2 separate regions of the Homo sapiens genome follow, and region 2 is linked to region 1. Evidence: promoter capture Hi-C in human tissues and cell types (Jung and others, 2019). All regions are on one chromosome and are shown on one strand. Each heading gives the region's core, a stretch centred on a gene start or on the middle of the fragment in contact. The rest is flanking DNA. Distances are from core to core; before and after follow the strand shown. Region 1 holds the start of HES7 (hes family bHLH transcription factor 7). Region 2 overlaps PIK3R5 (phosphoinositide-3-kinase regulatory subunit 5).

Evidence for each region. The method cuts DNA at HindIII sites, captures the fragments that hold promoters and counts their contacts. A contact is called where the count stands out against the background at its distance.
Region 2: a contact is called between a fragment that was not itself captured here and the fragment with the promoter of HES7 in region 1, in 1 of the 25 tissues and cell types used here (lymphoblastoid cells).

What each region holds. Positions count from the first base shown.
Region 1 is chr17:8,122,358-8,126,488 of GRCh38, reverse strand. HES7 (hes family bHLH transcription factor 7) reads left to right here and starts at 2,383. Exons shown (of 4, transcript NM_001165967.2): 1 at 2,383-2,446; 2 at 3,363-3,458; 3 at 4,059-4,131. The coding sequence starts at 2,405. TRG-GCC2-6 (tRNA-Gly (anticodon GCC) 2-6) reads right to left here and starts at 743; the gene lies at 673-743. RefSeq lists enhancers at 55-114, 1-728, 2,005-2,525 and silencers at 655-704, 815-864. The HindIII fragment of the contact is 8,809 bases long and covers 1-4,131 here.
Region 2 is chr17:8,949,063-8,953,702 of GRCh38, reverse strand. All of the region lies in intron 1 of PIK3R5 (phosphoinositide-3-kinase regulatory subunit 5), which reads left to right. Among named protein-coding and RNA genes, the nearest start is that of PIK3R5, 14 kb to the left of the region's middle. The HindIII fragment of the contact is 5,738 bases long and covers 164-4,640 here.

The DNA of each region.
Region 1 (4,131 bases), core at 1,134-3,633:
GCAGGAGCGTGGGAGCGCAGAGTCCCGGGAGGCGACAGAGACTCGGAGAGACGACGAGATACCAGAGACCCGAGAGAGCCAGAGGCGGAGATGCAGACGCCAAGACGCGGAGAGACGCGGAATCAGAGATGCGGAGGGAGGAGACCACCAACACCAGAGAGACCCAGGGCAGAAGTCGCTGAAGATCTGGAAAAAACGTGAGAGATACAGAGATGGAGGAGCTAAGAGACACTCAGAGACCCGGAAAGGAGGCGAGACAAAAAAGGCATAGACCCATAGACTTAAGAAAAGAAAGCGTGCTTCAGAGAGAACGGAAAATAACAGAGGAAGAGAGGTGGAAAGAACAAGGGATGTAGAGTGGGGGGCGGGGAGACCTGGCCCTTCCCCCGCGGGGGGCCGAGATCCGAGCACTGTGTCCTTTCTCAGGGTCACGCCTGCGGAGGTGCGGGCCGGGGACGGAGGGAGGGGGGTGTGGAGGCTGCAGGACCCCCATGCTGGGAGGAGGGGAGTGCGAGGGCGTGCGGAATCGTTTAGGCCTGGGGCTGCAAACTCTGCTATAGTCAAAAGGTTAAGATTAATATTTGGTAGAAATATTTAAGTGAAGATGTTTCTTAGAAATGCTACCAAATATATTATCCTTTTTTTGGAGGGGAGAAAAGAAAACTGTACTCGTGCATTGGCCGGGAATCGAACCCGGGCCTCCCGCGTGGCAGGCGAGAATTCTACCACTGAACCACCAATGCGCGGCTTAAAGATTCTGCGGGGATCCTATCTGAGATTGTAAGAGGTTGAGGCGGACCCGGACAGGCAACGGTGTAGGCCAGGGAAGTGGTCCCGAATGGTTGCCGTGGGTGGAGCGCCAAGTCATCCTTCCTCTCGTCCGGATCCGGCCACCGGGCCATAAAGCCGCCCCATATGGCCAGGGGCGGCCCCACACCCGGGTGCGAACAGCCGGGGGCCCCCAGCCTCGCGTGCAGGTGAGAAAAATTCAGCCCGAGCCCAGGTTCCCAAGGAGGGGGGCGGCGGGGGCTGATGGGGACACACATTTGCGTTCCCATTTGGCTGAAGGACGGAGAGGTGGGATGTGCTGGGGGCCCTGATCCCAAATGGGAGCCCCCTCCTCAAGGTCTGTGCCTCTCCCGGCTCGGGCTATGATGGCAAGAAAGGCTTCGTGACAAAACCAAGGTGCGGAGGGCCGTTGGGAGGGCTTGAAGGAAACCCCATTGGTCTCTGATTTCACAGCTGTCTTCCGTCTCGGTCTGCAACCCTGTCTTTCCGTGTCTTTATCCCTGGCAACCTGGCTGTTCCCTTCAGTTTCTGATTTATCTTCTCAGACACTTTGTCCTGAAGCCCTCGAGTGGTCAGGCATCGTTCTGCGGAGGGTCATGCTCTTGGTTTGAGGTGGGTGTTGATCCCTTTTTTGTACCCCTTGCTTTCCCCTTAGTAAACTGCCTGCTCCCTGCTACCCTACAGTCACCAGGGGCCTCCAGAAGCAAGCAATGCGGGCACACTTGCGTGAGGTGTCCTATCAGCCACACTCCTGAATCTCCTATGACTAGTTTTGAATCAAATACTTGTACTGTAAGTGGAAAGACCTCTCCACTCATACCTATGTTTCAAAGACTTGCTCCCTCTGCCTTGAAGATCCTCCTCAGTCCAGCCATCCTTAAGGAGACCTTTTCCCGGAGCACCTACTTCACTGGGCTTCTGTAATAGCTACTTGGTGTCACATGGTCTTTTCCATTAGATCCTGCAGGGATAAGCTGGGTCTCTCCTGCGTATCTCACTATGACTCGCCCGAGCCTAGACAAGTGCCCTGTCCGCAGAGTGGGCGCGCAGATGTTCGCGGACTTGAATGTAACTGGCTTAGATAGAAGAGAGCGCCTCTCCAACCTCCCGGCAGAGCTTCGGTTGAGTCGGACAGATTCACCCAGCGCACTCGGGTTGCTCCCTGTCTCGACTAGGAAGCGAACTTCGGAGATGATGTATAAAATTCAGCCTGGGGGCTGAGAGGTGCTAACTTCTATTTCAGGGTTAGTGAGGGTACAGTAAGCCTCCCAGAAAGCTGCAATTCTGGAGGAACTCTGAATTTCATCCCCAAGCGAGCTCTGCCCCAATAGCCTCCTCCTTTCAGCTGGGTCCCGCCTCCTTATACAGCCTTACGGTCTGTAAACCAGCCAGTGCCCCCATTCACCCCTCACTTCCCGCACTCCCAGGCCAGTTTCTCTCCTTCCCCTCCCCCCTTCACTCCTCCTCTTTCCGGGAGCCTCGTGCCGGGTCCTAGAGGGGCAGAATCTGGATGTCGAAGGGGGCGGGGTCGGGTCCTATCCCTCCTACCCTTGGGCCGCGGAATATAAGGCTCCAGGCGAGCAGGGAACCGGTCCACACAGGGTCCGGAGGAGCAATGGTCACCCGGGATCGAGCTGAGAATAGGGACGGCCCCAAGGTGAGAGGCGGGAGGGGAGGGAGCAGAGGTCCCTGGTTTGGCTAGGGGACTGGGCCCCTGACGCCGTCGGTCTGGAGAGAGGCTGGGGACGCAGGGGTGGAAGGGGAGCGGTGCTCCAGAACTCCAGGAGCCAGAAGCTGGAGAGGAAGCTGCAAAATATGAAGAAGGGGACAGGGGTCAGAGCCAGACCTGAGTGGGCGGCGGGAACATAGGACTAGGGGCCTCGGTAATGGGTGTCGGCACCTTGTGGCCTGGGGAGGGGGCCGGTGTTGGAGTAAAATAAGCAATTAGAGGGCAGAGCCAAGGGAGGAGGGTGGGAACGAAAAGAGAAGAGGATAGGCACTTGCTCCACTCTGGCTGTGAGCCGGGCGGGGCTGGCCCAAGGCGGTCTTGTACAGAAGGTCCCGGGGCGTTGGTTCCAGAGGCCCCAGACTGGTGGAAGATTTTAGGAGAACCGTGGAGAAGGTGAAGGCCTGGAGGGTTTTGAGGGAAAAGAGGCGGCGCGGTCGCGCTAGGTATCTCCCTTTCTATACTCAGGGCCGCCAGGTCTGAGCCCGGCACCGTGCGGCGCACGTGCGTGCGCGCAGAGAGTCCCCAAAGTTCTCCACTGAGACAAAGAGAAACTGCACCAGACGGAGACGTAGAGAGAAAAGAGGAGGAGAGACACAGAGAGGGGAGGAGGGAGGACGAGACTGAGAGAGGAGAATGCGAAGATCCGGGGAGGCGAGCTACAGAAACTGATCTAGGGGCATTGGGAGGGGGAGCGGAGAGGGATCGAATGGGGCCGGCCCTAGGCAATCTGGGGTCTTGTGGCCGGGGTGGAAGCCGGGCTCTCCCAGCGGCGGGATCCGACGCCGGGGCGGCCGCACTGAGTCTCGGTCTGGTCGGCCCGCTCTCCTTTTCTCGCTGGTCGCAGATGCTCAAGCCGCTTGTGGAGAAGCGGCGCCGGGACCGCATCAACCGCAGCCTGGAAGAGCTGAGGCTGCTGCTGCTGGAGCGGACCCGGGACCAGGTCAGTCCCTCCGCTAGCCCTAGGTCCCCAAGCTTCCCGTTTCCGCGTCCCAGGGCTTCCCACTGGGGTGGGGACACAAGCTTGGTTGGCAACCCTGGCCCCAAGGCATCCTCACCCGAGTCCCGCCTTTGGAATTCCATCCCAGACCCCCACTCGCTCTCAGAACGCGATCTTCTTCGCCACCCCTCGGGTCTGTAAGTTTCACGCCTGGTTCTGTAAATTTCGCTCCCGGGGTCGGTCAGTTTCACCCTTTGGGTCTCTAAGTGTCCGGTTCCCCCTCCCCCACAGCCAGCCTCTGATGAGCCAGCCTCTGTTATGTCGGGTGGTTAATTTCATTCCCTGGGTTGCGGTTTCAAATCTCCTCCTCACGCGTTGGGCATTGGTTCCAACCCCTAGGATTGGACAGTTTCGTCTCAGGGTGGGCCAGGACTTTCCTTGGTCATCTCCACTCCGCATTTGGTCGCGCGTTCTGTGGGCAGTGCGCAAATGCGATCGGGGGCACCACCAGCTCCCGCATCCGTCCCTCCCTTCTTCCCCCTGCCACTTTCCCCCTTTCTCCCCACCCCTTTCTGTCTCTGCGCCCTCCCCTCCCGTCTGTAGAACCTCCGGAACCCGAAGCTGGAGAAAGCGGAGATATTGGAGTTCGCCGTGGGCTACTTGAGGGAGCGAAGCC
Region 2 (4,640 bases), core at 1,783-4,282, 830 kb before region 1:
CCCTCTTCAGTGGGTGGGTAACCCAAGAGTGGGTGATCAAAAGATGGGGCTCACTCTTACCACCTGACTTCTGAAGACCTGAGGTTGTTTTTAGTGGTGAATCCATCCTCTGAACCCATTTGATGCCAAATGTGAGCTGGCCAGTGGTAGGGCCAAGGTGCAAAGGCTCCTGTGAGTTCAACACATTAGCCTGTGGGTCACGGTGCTATGATAGCTGTTGGTGTGAGGGGATTTGCTTTACTGTGCAAAACAAGAGAAAAATAAGGGTGTGGCCCTTTAAAGAACTTGCTAATAAAAACCTCCCACTTGAGAGAGGCAGAGCTTGGCCTAAAGGGTGGGGTTGAGGAGGGAGATGATGGGTGGAGTTGAACAAGGACTAGCCTTATGTAAGCATCAAGAAAACACATTTCTGAACTAGTGAGGCTAAGTAGCTCAGGTCCAAGGCATGTGAGACATTTGGGAGTTGGTTCAGAAGGCTGTTCTAGAGGGTACTTGAGTTGCCTAGCAGATAGATGGTGGGGACTTGTGGAAGTTGATGGAAGCAAGCCCTCAATGCTGGACCATGTAATGGGTGCAATGAATAAAGAAGGAGGCGTCCAACTTCCCATTCCCTCATTCTCCCAACTGTGGTCCAAGGCACTGTGCTATTACAGTCCAGCACTCTCCTCTGAGATAGATGTAGCTGGTCAAGAATGCTCCTTCTTGGACCATGGCTCAACTCTGCCAGGTTCCCATCAAGGCTCCTGTCCAGGGGCTGTTGAAGGGATTGGGTTGCAGCCATGGTAATCATATGATAACGGCCACAGTTGCAACTTGGGTCCAGAGCTCAGTGGCCTCAGAGGGTCCCATCTCCCCTCCTCCCCCTACCTTTCCTGCATTTTCAAAGCTGCAGGCTTACTTCTCGTTGGCTGTGTTACTCCGAAGATCTGCTCAGTAGATGGAGGTGAAAATGTTATTTTTCACTAAAATATCTGACCTTGTTTAAGGAGAAAAAATTTTGTAATAATGCCCATAATTTATTCTCATGGTACTTTATTGACCAGTAAGAGATTACCCCTAATTCATTTATAAAAATATTACTCTCTCGACTTAAGTCGCTTCAATACTAACTGGCCAGCCCAGTTTGCTCCAATGAGTGTCTGGCCTTTAAATAGCTCAATCCCTGCTGCTCTCCCTAGAGTAGGACACACAGAGGTGGGGACTCCATGTAGAAAACCTGTGCTCCAGAAGTCATGTCTGTAGGATGACTTCACCTTTTATGAGGTGTCTCTATCAAGGAAATTTTGGGTATACCGTGTGGTCTTTAAGTCAGACCATAAACCATATTCTACAAATTCAGGGGAAATCCACCAGCTGTAACTAAATGGCATAGTAACAGAAAAACAAAAACATCATTTCTCTTATTAGGTAACTCAGCATTCACTGAAATATTAGTTGGTCTACTGGTTTCTCTGTTGGATTGGAGAGACCCAAAATAATAGTGGCTTAAACAAGATAGAGGTTTATTTCTGTCTCAGGTAGCAAGCTGGGCATAAGTGATCCAGACTTCACATGACAGCTTTATAGGTTGGGAACCAAGGTTCCTTTTGTGTCATTGCTCTGCCTTCTTCAACATGTAGCTCTCATCTCATGGTCCATAATGGCTGCTCTAGCAATTGCCATCGCATCTGCATTCCAGCTAGCAAGAAGGGGAAAGGGGGAAGGGAAGTGCATGCCTCTTCCTTCTAAAAGCATGACTTGGAAATTGCACTTATCAATGTCTATTCATATTCCAGTAGCCAGAATGTAGTCATATGGTCATACTTAGTTACAAGAGTCTGGGAAACGTGATCTAAAATTCCTAAAAGTTATATCCCCATAGAAGGAAGGAGAATAGATATGGAAGAACAATTTTGAGTCTCATCCACATTTGAACTTTGTGAATCTTCACTGTTACATAGATGTTCTTTATCCCTTCTGTTGTGGAGTAAGCTTGCCTCCTAAGCCCTGCTGAAAACTATTAATAAAAAACAGCATGCTACACCAAAAGGTCAAACTAACCCAAATGTCCATTAATGGATAAATGGATAAACAAAATGTGTATATACATTCAATTGAATATTATTGATCCTTAAAAAGGAATGAGGTTCAAACACATGCTACGATATGCATGAACCTTGAAGACATTATGCTAAGTGAAGTAAGCCAGACACAAAAGGATAAATACTGTGTGATTCCACCCAAATGAGGTAGCTAGAGTAAACTCATAGAAACAGAAAGTAGATTAGAGGTTACCAGAGGCTGGGGGGAGAAGTGGCGGGGAGTTAGTGTTTATTGGGTATGGAGTTTCAGTTTAGGAAGACGAAAAAGTTCTGTGAATGGATGGTGGGGATGGTTGCACAACATTGTGAATGTACTTAATGTCACTGAACTGTATACTTAGAACTGTACGCACAAAACTGTACACACACAACCTACAGAATGGGAGAAAATATTTGCAGACTATGCATCTGTCAAAGGTCTAATATCCAGAGTCTATAAGGAACTTAAACAAATCAACAAGCCAAAACCAAATAACCCCATTTAAAAACAGGCAAAGGACATGAACAGACACTTCTCAAAAGAAGACGTACAAATGGTCAACACACATATCAAAGATAATGCTCATTATCACTGATTATGAGGGAAATGCAAATCAAAACCTTAACAAGATACCATCTCGCACCAGTCAGAATGGCCACTATTGAAAAGCCAAAAAACAACAGATGCTGGCGAGGCTGTGGAGAGAAGGGAACACTTACACATTGTTGGTGGGAGCGTAAATTAGTTCAACCACTATAGAAAGCAGTTTGGAGATTTCTCAAAGAACTTAAAACAGAGCCACCATTTGACCCAGTGATCTCATTACTGGGTATATTCCCAAAGGAAAATAGCTCATTATACCAACAAGACACATGTACTCACATGTGTTCATCACCCCACTATTCACAATAGCAAAGACATGGAATCAACCTAGGTGCCCATTGATGGTAGATTGGATAAAGAAAATGTTCTACATATAAACCATGAAATACTATGCAGCCGTAAAAAAGAATGAAGTCATGTCCTTTGCAGCAACATGGATGGAGCTGGAGGCCATAATCCTAAGCAAATTAATGTAGGAATGGAAAACCAAATACCATATGTTCTCTCTTACAAGTAGGAGCTAAACACTGAGCACAAGTAGACATAAACATGGGAGCAATAGACATTGTGGACTCTCAGTGGGGAGAGAGGGAAGGGTGAGGATTGAAAAACCTCCTATTGAGTACTGTGCTCACTACCTGGATGCAATATACCCATATAACAAACCTGCACCTGTATCTAACATAAAAGTTGGAATTAAAAAAATACTTACAATCGTAAATTTTATATTGCATATATTTTACCACAATCATGCTATAAAGGACCAAAGGCAGGGTTCTCTGGCATTTTAGGAGCAATGTCCCTACAGATGAAGCTACTCAACACCCTTTGGGTGAGGTTATGAAGCCAGTAATGAATCCATCTATCTGTGTTATCATTCGTATTTTTTACATCATCATGAAACTATATAGCAAGACTTGCTCAAATTCAGATATGCTGCTATTGTGGCTGTTCTTCTATTACCTCTTTAGTCAGTGAATCCATTGATCCCTATTGGCTGCTGGTGGTTCCTGGATCTTTCCCTTAGCATTCACAAACTGTCTTTTAATAATGTATAGAGAATGTTGCCAGGGGACTGGTGGACTCAGACATGTACTTTAAAAAATTCCACTTAAAAAAATTGTTTTTAAATTTTTATTTTCATAGATTTTTGGGGAACAGGTAGTATTTGGTTACGTGAGTAAGTTCTTTAGAGGTGACTTGTGAGATTTTGGTGCAGTGTACGTTGTACCTAATGTGTAGCCTTTTATCCCTCACCCACTTCCCACCTTTCCCCTGCTAAGTCCCCAAAATCCATTGTATCATTCTTATGCCTTTGCATCCGTATAGCTTAGCTCCCACTTATGAGTCAGAACATATGATGTTCGGTTTTCCATTCCTGAGTTACTTCACTTAGAATAATAGTGTCCAATCCTATTCAGGTTGCTGCAAATGCCATTACAGAATTCTCCCTTTCTTTTTCTGTTCCTCACGATGACGACAACATTTTCTAATCTGTCTCTGTCTTTCTCTGTCTCTGTCTCTTATACATCTTTCATTTTCTCTGATTCTTCAAAGATAATCGGTAGCAGCTCCCTTTCACAACCTCAAGTTTCTTTATGACTCTGAGATGCCTTTATTCTCTTCTGCAATCCTAAACTCATTTTCAGCAGCAAGCCTCCCTATTTGGCATCAGATGTTTCAATATCGGACCCTTTCCCCGCAATCTACCTTTCACCCTGTGGCTGGTACAACCTTCCAAATCCAAAAGCTGATGTGTCATTCACCAGCTCGAAATTTAGCAGTGGCTCCACATGGCGCTTGAGTAAACCCTTAAGCACTTAGCTTGGCAGATAAGGCTGTTCACAGTCTACCATGCCAGCCCATGCAGCATCATCTCCCAGCGTGCCCCATGTCATGCCTACCCTTCAGTAGGGCTGAACTGCCAGCATTTCCCTAAAGGAACCATGCTGTCTCCCGCCTCTTGCCTCAGTTTA